2 separate regions of the Homo sapiens genome follow, and region 1 is linked to region 2. Evidence: promoter capture Hi-C in 16 types of primary human blood cells and fetal thymus (Javierre and others, 2016). All regions are on one chromosome and are shown on one strand. Each heading gives the region's core, a stretch centred on a gene start or on the middle of the fragment in contact. The rest is flanking DNA. Distances are from core to core; before and after follow the strand shown. Region 1 overlaps LYPD5 (LY6/PLAUR domain containing 5). Region 2 holds the start of LYPD3 (LY6/PLAUR domain containing 3).

Region 1 (5,784 bases), core at 1,909-4,408, 330 kb before region 2:
GGGCTGATGTATGGGTTTACAGGGCACTACAGGACCACACTTCACTCTACCTGTCCTGGAGTGCATGTTTCTTGTCAGGGGTCTCTTACTGTGCTGTCCACTTTGTGAGTTAAGCTTGGGGAAGGATGGGCAGAGCAAGAATGAATCACTTTTCCTTCCTATTCTAAGTCATAGCTAGGGAGAGGGCTTCCTGGAAGAGGGTGGAGACCTGGAGTGTCCTGGAGGGAAAAAACTGGACTGTCAGCTGCAGAGAGGTCATTACTCTGCCATGAGACAGACACAGCTGTGACCAGCTGCAATAGCAGCACCTGGTCTCTCAAGGCGTGTCTTCCCTGGGAGCAGAGGGGCCAGGCCCGTGTGCCTGTCATTTGCTGGGTGGAGCTCTGAGTTCCTGGGACAGGCTCACACTGGCCCTGCTGACTCTGCCACGCCTCTCTCCCCAGGGTCCCAAGCCCTGCAGTGCTACAGCTTTGAGCACACCTACTTTGGCCCCTTTGACCTCAGGGCCATGAAGCTGCCCAGCATCTCCTGTCCTCATGAGTGCTTTGAGGCTATCCTGTCTCTGGACACCGGTAAGGAGCGGGAGCCGGGGGACAGGGATGAGAGATTAGGGAGGAAAAAGGGGGGAGAGGGGAGCAGAAAGGGAGGGGAATTGAGTAGAAGATGAAAAGATAAAGATAGAAAGATGGGGAGGGAGAGGAAGAAGAGGAGGAAGAAAAAGAAAAGGGTGGATGAGGGCTGGGGCAGTGGCTCAGGCCTGTAACTCTAGCACTTTGGGAGGCAGAGGCTGGCGAATCACGAGGTCAGAAGTTTGAGACCAGCCTGGCCAACATGGCAAAACCCCGTCTCTACTAAATATACAAAAAGTTAGCTGGGCGTGGTGGCGGGCACCTGTAATCCCAGCTACTCGGGAGGCTGAGGCACGAGAATCGCTTGAATCCGGGAAGCGGAGGTTGCAGTGAGCCGAAATCGGGTCACTGCACTCCAGCCTGGCGACAGAGCGAGGCTCCGTCCTCCGCCCCACAAAAGAAAAAGTGGATGAGGGACGAGCGGTGAGGGGAGGAAACAATGGGGAAGCAAGGAAGAGAAGGTGGGAGAGGCGCACAGGGAGGAAGAGTGGAGGAAGAGAAGAACTCGGGGGAAAAGGTCTGGGGGTGAGAGGAAGGAGGGAAGGAGGGAGGGGAGGAGGTGTAGGTGAAAGTGAAAGGATAGAGGGAGGAGGAAGAACGCTGAGACTGGAGGGAGAAGGGTTTCGGGAAGCAGAGCACGAGCCCCGATCCCGCCCCCAGGGTATCGCGCGCCGGTGACCCTGGTGCGGAAGGGCTGCTGGACCGGGCCTCCTGCGGGCCAGACGCAATCGAACGCGGACGCGCTGCCGCCAGACTACTCGGTGGTGCGCGGCTGCACAACTGACAAATGCAACGCCCACCTCATGACTCATGACGCCCTCCCCAACCTGAGCCAAGGTGCGCGGGAGAGCGGGGCTGGGCTCCGGGAGGGACGATGAGAGGCCTGGCAGCCTCGGGGAAGGCGTGGCCTCCGCTGGGCGCCTGCTCTTGGCGCGCTAGGATCCCAACCCCCGAGACGTGCTAGGCGCGGGCTCTGGCGCAGTGCGCAGCCCGCACGACTGTGCCAGGGTACCACTGCCTGAGTGTGCATCTACGCTCTCTTGCCAGCACCCGACCCGCCGACGCTCAGCGGCGCCGAGTGCTACGCCTGTATCGGGGTCCACCAGGATGACTGCGCTATCGGCAGGTCCCGACGAGTCCAGTGTCACCAGGACCAGACCGCCTGCTTCCAGGGCAATGGCAGAATGACAGTTGGTAAGGGGCTGGAAGGGTGGAAGGGCCTGGGCAAGGGATATGGAGGCAGGGCAGCCATGAGGGTAGTGATACCAGACAGGCCCAACAGGGAGACATGGCCCTGCTCTGAGGTGGGAGGCATGACCCTGGTCTGAGGGAGAAGGTTTGACCCTGGTCTGAGGGAGAAGATTTGGCCCTGGTCTGAGGGAGAAGATTTGGCCCTGGTCTGAGGGAGGAGGCATGACCCTGGTCTGAGGGAGGAGGCATGACCCTGGTCTGAGGGAGGAGGCATGACCCTGGTCTGAGGGAGGAGGCAAGACCCTGGTCTGAGGGAGAAGCCTGGCCCTGCTCTGAGGAAGGAGGCCATGCCCTGGTCTGAGGGAGGAGGCATAACCCTGGTCTGGGGGAGGAGGCATGGCCCCTGGTCTGAGGGAAGAGGCATGGCCCTGGTCTGAGGGAGGAGGCACGACCCTGTTCTGAGGGAAGAGGCATGGCCCTGGTCTGAGGGAGGCCTGGCCCTGGTCTTAGGAGGAAAACCTGAAGCAAGTCTGAGGACCGAGGCATGGCCCTAGCTACCAAGGTGAAGGTTCAGGTGCAGCTGTCTCCCTCAGTTCTGACCGTTCCTCACTGCTTTGCCCACCTCCAGGCAATTTCTCAGTCCCTGTGTACATCAGAACCTGCCACCGGCCCTCCTGCACCACCGAGGGCACCACCAGCCCCTGGACAGCCATCGACCTCCAGGGCTCCTGCTGTGAGGGGTACCTCTGCAACAGGAAATCCATGACCCAGCCCTTCACCAGTGCTTCAGCCACCACCCCTCCCCGAGCACTACAGGTCCTGGCCCTGCTCCTCCCAGTCCTCCTGCTGGTGGGGCTCTCAGCATAGACCGCCCCTCCAGGATGCTGGGGACAGGGCTCACACACCTCATTCTTGCTGCTTCAGCCCCTATCACATAGCTCACTGGAAAATGATGTTAAAGTAAGAATTGCACTCCTGTCCCTCTGGCCTTCCATCTCTCCCGCCCTTGTGCCCCACAACCTGGCCAACAGTACTGGAAGAAACTGGACACAGTCACCAGCATCCCCGGGGAGGGCAAAACAGCCATGTCGTGCCCCGATGAAGAGCAATTCTGATCACAGCTGTTACTCACTGAGCACCAGCCAGGCACCAGGCACCCCATAACACGGCTTCCTGTGCTCTCCCTCCAGAGCCTGTCGCAGCTCTAGGAGGGAGCTATACAATGATGTCTTTATTAGTGTCATCATGAGAAGCCCAATAAGCAGTATGCCCTAACAGTTAGTAGGCCAGGCTCTGGAGCTAAGCTGCATGGGTTCAAATCCCAGCTCCACCATTCAGCCTGCAGAGACCATGAGCGAGTTACTTAAGCCAGGCTCTGGAGCTAAGCTGCATGGGTTCAAATCCCAGCTCCAGCATTCAGCCTACAGAGACCATGGGTGAGTTACTTAAGCCAGGCTCTGGAGCTAAGCTGCATGGGTTCAAATCCCAGCTCCACCATTCAGCCTGCAGAGACTGTGGGTGAGTTACTTGAGCTCTCTGTGCCAATATTTTCTCACCTATAAGGTGGAGGTGAAAATAAACTCTATAACATGACAAGAACTACTTCACAGTAGTTGCAGTGAGGATTCAACGAGATGAACATTTAGTACTTGGGACACAGCAGTGGCCCAGTGTAAATGGGCTACTTGTCATAAGCCCTAAGTCACAGGTCAACAAACTGAGAGGCAAAAGCACTTGGTTGAGCTTGTGTATCTAGTGAGTATGGATTCAGGGACCAGATTCCCAGCCCCACGAACTGCTAAGCAACCCCACCTCCTAAACACATGAGTGCCGATTAACTTCACAGAAAAACACACAAGGCAAAGTTCAGCGAGGTGAAATTCTCCAAGCTATAAAGATCAGGGAAGACTTCCTGGAGGAATTCACCCTTGAGCAAAATCCTAAAGGATCAATAGTAGCTGGCAAAAAGAAGCAGGAGGAAGCGCATTCTAGGTAGAGGAGACAGCCTGGACAAAGGTCTGAGGGAGGAAGGAGCACAAGGAGTGCAGGACACTTTCATGAGTGCAGGACACTTTCATAACTGCATGAACTTCATAGAGATGGGATCCTTTAGCATGTTCTCTGTGCACATGCTTGACCATGTTCTTTCACATGCTTTTTGCCACTTGATCTTTCCAGCAACTCAGTGAGAGAAGCAAAAAAGTAAGTTGCATCCTGCTATTGTCTGAATGTTTGTGTCTCCCCAAAATTCATCTTTTGAAACCTAATTACCAAAGTGATATTACTGGGAGGTGGGGCCTTTGGGAGGTGGTGAGATCATGAGGGTGGAGCCCCCATGAATAGGATTAGTGCCCTTATAAAAGAGGCCCTGGAGAGCTGCCTTGCCCCTTCCACCACATGAGAACACAGCCAGCAGGTGCCTATAAGCAAGAAAGTGGGTTCTCACCAGCCATCGAATCTGCTGGTGCATTGATTGCAGACTTCCCAGACTCCAGAGCTATGAGACATAAATTTCTGTTGTGTATAAGCCATACAGTCTATGGTATTTTGTTACAGCAGCCTGAAGGGACTAAGACACCTTCCTGTTTTACAGACAAGATGCCCAAAGCACAGTGAGAGAGCAATTTTCAGAGTAAGTGCATAGCAAGAGTAGACTCCCGTGTCTTCTCGCTCCATGTCAGCAAGTAGACTTGTGGGAAGGGGGGCAATTCAGAAACACTCCGCTCCTATGCTCCTGTAAGGCCATGTGACAAGGGCTTCAGGTGTCTTTACATCCTGACATACAAGGGGAAGCTGGATGTCTTCATTCATCCTTCACATTTACTGAGCACCTACTATGTGCAAGGCACTGTTCCAGTTGCTGGGCATGCAGCAGGGAACTAAAGTGGCAAAAATTCCCACCTTCAAGGAGCTAGCCTTTTTGATGGGCTAGCAATCCAAAGCGAACTTTGGATTTTGCTTGTGTATTTATTAGAGACAAGGTCTCGCTCTATCCCAGGCTGGAGTGCAGTGGCACAATCAGCTCACCGTGGCCTCAATCTCCCAGGCTCAAGCAATCCTCCCACCTCAGCCTCCCTAGTAGCTGGGACTATAGGTGTGTGCCACCACACCCTGCTAATTTTTGTATTTTTCATAGAGATGGGGCCCCCACTATGCTGCCCAGGCTAGTCTCAAACTCCTGGGCTCAAGCAGTCCTCCTGCCTCAGTCTCCCAATGTGCTGAGATTACAGGTGTGAGTCACCATGCCCAGCCAGATTTTGGATTTTATTGCAAATGTGGTCTGAAGTTGGGATGGCCAGTTTGATGTGTCAGCTTACCTATGTGACAGTTCCAGTTATTCAGTCAAACACTAATCAGTGTGTTGATGTGAGGGTATTTCGTAGATGTGATTAAAGTCCATAATCAGTTGACTTTGAGGAAGGGAGATTGTTCTAGACAGTTTGGGTGGGCCTGACTCTATCAGCTGAAAGGCCTTAGGAGCAGAGATGAGGCTTCTCTGAGGAAGAAAAAAACTGCACCTATGGACAGCTGCTTCAGCCCATGCCTGAGATTCCAGCTTGCTCTTTCTGACCTGCCTAGCCAGGCCACATAAGCCAATTCTTTGCAATAAATCTTATATTATAGATTGTCTACTGGTTCTGTTTCTGTGGTTAATCCAAGACTAACACAGAATGTGTTGGAGCCAGCGTGGTGGCTCATGCCTGTAATCCCAGCACTTTGTGAGGCTGGGTTGGGCGGATCACCTGAGGTCAGGAGTTCAAGACTAGCCTGGCCAACATGGTGAAATCCCGTCTCTACTGAAAATACAAAAATTAGCCGGGCATGCACCTGTAGTCCCAGCTACTTGGGAGGCTGAGGCAGGAGAATCACTTGAACCCAGGAGGCAAAAGTTGCAGTGAGCTGAGATCATGCCATTGCATTGAAGCCTGGGCAACACACAGAGACTCTGTCTCAAAAAAACAAA
Region 2 (5,861 bases), core at 936-3,435:
TCTCCCAGCTCAGCCTCTCAAGTAGCTGGGATTATAGGTGCACACCCCCACGCCCAGCTAATTTTTTGTATTTTCAGTAGAGACGAGGTTTCGCTGTGTTGCCCAGGCTATTGATTTGTTTCTTGATCCTTTACTGTCGCAGTGTGGCCTTGTCCAGGTTGGTGCTCTGTGAAATTATCTAGGCGCAGTTGAACTCCATGGCCTCACTATGTGTGTCAGGCCAACTCCCAGCTGTTAGGGGCTGTTTTTCTCTTTCTTCCATGGAAAACTACACGGCCCCCTGTTGGTTTCCTGGCCTTCTCTCTCACCCCTTCTAGAGTCATTTTCCTTTTTTACACAGAGTCCACAGTGACATTCTTTACCTTGTTTTTATTGAAGAATAACATACGTCCAGTGACAGGCCTGAGTCAGTGATTCTCAACGTATCTGTACACACATGCAGCTGTCACCTAGATGAAGATCGTGGGGGCTCCTCCCTGTTGCTCCTTCTGGGGCCATGCCCTCCCAAAGGTAACATGTGTTCTGATTTCTATCACCACTGGTTAGTTTTGTCTGTTCTGAAACTTCATATATATTCAGTTACACAGTATGTTTTGTTTGTTTGTTTAAGGCTTTCTAAACTCAACACCAAGTTTTTTCTTTTTTTAAAATAAAATGAGATGGGATCTCACTATGTTGCACAGCCTGGTCTCAAAACCCCTGGGTTCAAGTGATCCTCCCACCTTGGTGTCTCAAAGTGCTGGGATTACAGGTGTGAGCCACTGTGCCTGGCCCCAACACAAAGTTTTTGAGATATGTTGCTGCATATATCAGGTGTTGGATCTTTTCTATTGCTGTGTAGTATTCCATTGGCCGAACCAACCACTCTCTTTTGCCATTCACTTCTTTTTCTTTTTCCTTTTTTAAAATCATATATCCTACTCTCAGATCCATTTACTTTTTTTTAATTTTTAAATTTTTAAATTTTTTTTTTTGAGACAGGGTCTCACTCTGTTGCCCAGGCTGGAGTGCAGTGGCGTGATCTCAGCTCACTGCAACCTCCACCTCCTGGGCTCAAGTGATTCTCCTGCCCTACCCTTCCGAGTAGCTGGGACAGCAGGTGCACGCCACTGCACCTGGCTAATTTTTTTAAATTTATTATTTTTTTTTAATAGAGATGAGGTTTCGCCATGTTGCCCAGGCTGGTCTCAAACTCCTGATCTCAAGTGATCCACCCAGCTCGGCCTCCCAAATTGCTGGGATTACAGGCATGAGCCACCGCGCCCGGCCTCCATTTACTTCTTGATGGCTAGCTGCACTATTTCTCAGGTTGATCATATTAGGAAGCAAATCTATTATGTCCTCCAGCTCATTTAGACCCTCTTAAAGGTTCTCTACTATTCTCAAAATTAATCCAAATCTCTTGTCGGGGCCTCTGATGCCCTGAGTGTCTCGGCCTCTGCCTGACTCTTTCATCTCAGTTCCTGCCCTTCTCTCATGGACTTCTGAGCTCAGGAGCACTGCTCTCCTTTCCATGTTTGAATGGTCCATCCTACCTCCTACCTCCAGGTGCTCCCACGTGCTGTTCCCTCTGCTTGTAAAGGGCTGTGTCCCTCTCTTGACCTGCTCTAGCTGGCTACATCCTGCATGCCCTTGAGGTTGCATCTCAGATAACCTCAAGGAAGCCCTCACCGACCAGCCCCCACTTCTAGACTGCACATCTCCTTGTATCACTACACTTTTTCCTTCAGTGTCTTAGTCTCTTTGGTAAACACCAATTTGTACGATTATTTGATTAGCATCTGTCTCCCCCATCAGACTGTGAGCTCTGCCAGGACAGGCACTGGTTCTGTCTTCATCTCCAGCATTACCTAGACCAAAGCCGGGCACACTGTAGATGCTCATTTAACAGTTACCGAACACTGAATGTCGAGTAGCCCCAGCCTGTCTTTAAGCCCCACTACTCTCCCACTCCAAACACACACAGACTTTCTCCCGCGAGCTGTCAGGGAACCTCAGCTCCCACCCTTTCCCTCCTTGGCAACTTCACAGGGCAGGGACCGCTCTCCCTTGGATGACGCGCCTAGGGGCGGGGCCCCGCCCCACAGCCGACGCTGAGTTGGCCCGGTTGGGCAAGGCTGGGGTTGCCTGGGGCGAGGTTACTCATCCTGGGCTCAGGTAAGAGGGCCCGAGCTCGGAGGCGGCACATCCAGGGGGGACGCCAAGGGAGCAGGACGGAGCCATGGACCCCGCCAGGAAAGCAGGTGCCCAGGCCATGATCTGGACTGCAGGCTGGCTGCTGCTGCTGCTGCTTCGCGGAGGTGGGTCTGCTGCCCGGAGAGGTGGAGGGGGTAGAGTGGGGGCTCTTAGGGAGGAGGCTCCTCTGGCCCCGTACAGAGAAGGCTGTGGGAAGGATCCCCACATAAGCAGAGGGCACTGTGGGCAAAGTTCCCCCATCCTAAGCAAGGGAGGCAGAGGGAAGGGTCCTCCACCATGGGCCGTAGGAAGGGTTCCCCACCACGGACAAGGGGAGCTGTGGGCAAAATTTTCCTATCCTGAAGCTGCAGAAAGAAGTCCCCTGTTCCTAGGCCGGGCGCGGTGGTTCATGCCTGTAATCTCAGCACTTTGGGAGGCCGAGGCAGGCGGATCATGAGGTCAAACGATCGAGACCAGCCTGGCCAACATGGTGAAACCCTGTCTCTACTAAAAATACAAAAATTAGCTGGGCGCGGTAGCGCGAGCCTGTAGTCCCAGCTACTCGGGAGGCTGAGGCAGGAGAATCGTTTGAATCCAGGAGGGGAGGTTGCAGTGAGCCGAGATTGCGCCACTGCACTCCAGCCTGGCGACAGAGCGAGACTCCGTCTCAAAAAAAAAAAAAAGAAAAAAAGAAAAAAAGAAAAAAGTGTTCCCTGTCCTGGGCAGAGAAGCTGTGGGTAGTGTTCTCTCATTTGAGCAGAAGGGGGCTGTGGGAAGGGATCCCTCACTGAGCACAGTCTACTGTGGGAAAAGTTCTCCCACACACTGTGGGAAAAGTTCTCTCATTCTGAGCAGAAAACCGTGAGGAGGTATCCTTCCTACCCCGGGATGAGGGGCTTCATGGCGGGGATCGCCTACAGTGGGCATACAGGGCTGTCGGAAGGATGTGCCCACAGTTGGCATAGTGGGTGTGAAGGAAAAGGGTCCAGTGATTCCCGTGCTTCCAGATTTGTGGAAAGCTTTTCCCTACTCCTGCCCTGGAAAAGTGTGTGCAATAAGACTGTCTAATCCCGGGACAGAGGGCATGGGAAGGACTATTTCTCCTTGGGGGTGGACGCTTTAGCAAGGAGGGCTCAGGTCTATTCGGCTCCGCTCCCCCAGGAGCGCAGGCCCTGGAGTGCTACAGCTGCGTGCAGAAAGCAGATGACGGATGCTCCCCGAACAAGATGAAGACAGTGAAGTGCGCGCCGGGCGTGGACGTCTGCACCGAGGCCGTGGGGGCGGTGGAGACCAGTGAGTGGGGACCCCCGGGCCACGCACACCACTGCAGGCTCCTCCGGCCCAGCCCCGCCTCCTTATAGTCCTTTCTGGATCTGGCCACGCCCCTTTAACGCGGCCCCACCCCTCCCTTTCAGCCTGGCCGGGACCCTACGACACAGCCTTGCAGGCCAGGCCTTCTCTATTAACAATTACAAGCGCGAGGAGCAGAGAGTTGAGAACTGGGTGGGGCGGACGGGGAGAGCTCGGGTTTGGAACGAGGTCACGTCCTATGCACTTTTTCTGCTCCACCAATGAGACCTCCCCATCCCTGCCTGTCAACCAGGCTGTCTCCTCCGACTCAGCTCTTTGAGGTTCCGCCCCCGTTCCGTGACCCCGCTCCTCCCTGCTTCGGTCGTTCTTTCCGCTCTGAGCGGCTCTTTGGGGGCGTCCATCCGCCAATTCCTGCCTGTCGGTCCTGTGGTGTTGGCCTATTTGAGGCCCCGCCCCTCCCAGACCCTACCCAACTCTGGGCCACGCCCCATCTGAGACCACGCCCACAGCTAATCCCGCCCTTGTCCCTCTCCCTAGTCCACGGACAATTCTCGCTGGCAGTGCGGGGTTGCGGTTCGGGACTCCCCGGCAAGAATGACCGCGGCCTGGATCTTCACGGGCTTCTGGCGTTCATCCAGCTGCAGCAATGCGCTCAGGATCGCTGCAACGCCAAGCTCAACCTCACCTCGCGGGCGCTCGACCCGGCAGGTCCGTGGGGGCCGGGCCGTAGCTGCGGGGGCGGAGCCACATTCGGGCCTGCCAAGATAGAGGTGGAGCCGTGGCAGAGGCGGGAGTACTCGACCTGGGCTGGGGGTGGGGTCACACTCTGGGGCGGGGCCAAGAGGCAGCAGGAGGGACTTTCTGGCTGTAGGCGCCGCGAGGTTGCGCGCTGGGGCGGGGCTACTAGTAGGCGGGGTCATCGATAGTGCCGGGGCCAGGCCTTAGGGGCGGGGCTAGAGGACGAGCTGCGGTTCCCGAACCCTTTCGACACCTTTTCTTCCTCTCGGCTCCCCTCGCAGGTAATGAGAGTGCATACCCGCCCAACGGCGTGGAGTGCTACAGCTGTGTGGGCCTGAGCCGGGAGGCGTGCCAGGGTACATCGCCGCCGGTCGTGAGCTGCTACAACGCCAGCGATCATGTCTACAAGGGCTGCTTCGACGGCAACGTCACCTTGACGGCAGGTGAGGGAGCCCCGGAGCACGGGACCTACGGGAGTTGTGGTAGCCCTTCTGAAGCACCCTGGGCGGTAGGGAGCCCTTTACCCAAAGCGTTTCCTTAACCTGCGACGCATTCTGGGAATCGTGGGGCCTAGGTGCTTGTATCGTAGGGCATCATGGAAAATGCAGTCCCTTCCCCCAACATATTAATAGTGTGGGGATAGTGATGCTTTGTCCCAGAGTGTTTTGGAGGGAAATGCATTTCCATAGAGGGCTGCCAGGTACTTAAGAGGTATTTAAGCCTCTAAGCTTCTGCCCAGGCACTGCGGGGAATCTCTAGTTCTTAGCCCTTAAAACTCAAGGGGTCCCCCGCCTGTCCCAGACTATTGAGAAATGTAACCATGGAAAATGAAGTTCTTCAAATCCCATCCCCTGCCAGTTATGCTATGGAAGATGTAGTTCTTTTTTATTTTATTATTACTATTTTTTTTTAAAGACAGCATCTTGCTCTATCGCCTAGCCTGGAGTGTAGTGGCGCAATCATAGCTCACTGCAGCCTCTACCTCTTGGGCTCAAGCAGTCCTCCCGCCTCAGCCTCCCAAGTAGCTGGGACTACAGGGTGCACCGCCACGACTGGTTCCTTTTATTTTTGGTAACAGTGGGGTCTTGCCATGTTACCCAGGCTGGTATTGAACTCTTGGGCTAAGAGATCCCCCTGCCTAGGTCTCCCAGAGTGCTGGGATTACAGCCGTGAACCACTGAGCCTGGTGTGGAGATGTAACTCTGACTCTAAGAGTAAATTCTGATGGGGAGGTAAAAGCCAGGGTGAAGGCTAAGGGGATAATGGTGAGAGGGTTGTAGAGGAAGTTTGTTCTGCACTGTGGTCTTGTGAGAGGTCTTGTATCTCAGTCTAAGCCTTTGTTTTAAACCCTACTTTTGGTTCAGCCTACACACATTTCCATTCAAAGCACAATGGAAAATGTTAATCCACCATGTGCCAAAGACAGTGAGTCTGTCTGTTTCTCATAGTAGGACCTGAGTTGAGATTTTGGGATTAATGGATGCAGAGACTTTCTGTCTCATTTTGGGGGTTCTCTGTTCTTTTTTTTTTTTGCAAGACAGAGTCTCACTCTGTTGCCCAGTGATCCACCTGCCTCGGCTTCCCAAAGTGCTGGGATTACAGGCGTGAGCCACCACGCCCGGTCAGGTTCTCTGTTC

Evidence for each region. Contacts are between HindIII fragments. The CHiCAGO score rates a contact against its expected background, and 5 or more counts as called.
Region 1: a contact is called between a fragment that was not itself captured here and the fragment with the promoter of LYPD3 in region 2, in 1 of 17 cell types (activated CD4 T cells). The highest score is 5.7, in activated CD4 T cells.

The regions. Positions count from the first base shown.
Region 1 is chr19:43,794,494-43,800,277 of GRCh38, reverse strand. LYPD5 (LY6/PLAUR domain containing 5) reads left to right here. Exons shown (of 5, transcript NM_001031749.3): 2 at 444-572; 3 at 1,290-1,466; 4 at 1,677-1,823; 5 at 2,449-4,351. The coding sequence ends at 2,687. Among named protein-coding and RNA genes, the nearest start is that of LYPD5, 5.1 kb to the left of the region's middle. RefSeq lists an enhancer at 1,213-1,382. The HindIII fragment of the contact is 6,084 bases long and covers 117-5,784 here.
Region 2 is chr19:43,461,932-43,467,792 of GRCh38, reverse strand. LYPD3 (LY6/PLAUR domain containing 3) reads left to right here and starts at 2,185. Exons shown (of 5, transcript NM_014400.3): 1 at 2,185-2,300; 2 at 3,337-3,468; 3 at 4,024-4,194; 4 at 4,506-4,667. The coding sequence starts at 2,222. RefSeq lists enhancers at 3,433-3,964, 4,517-4,566, 4,597-4,656 and a silencer at 4,207-4,366. The HindIII fragment of the contact is 14,493 bases long and covers 1-3,196 here.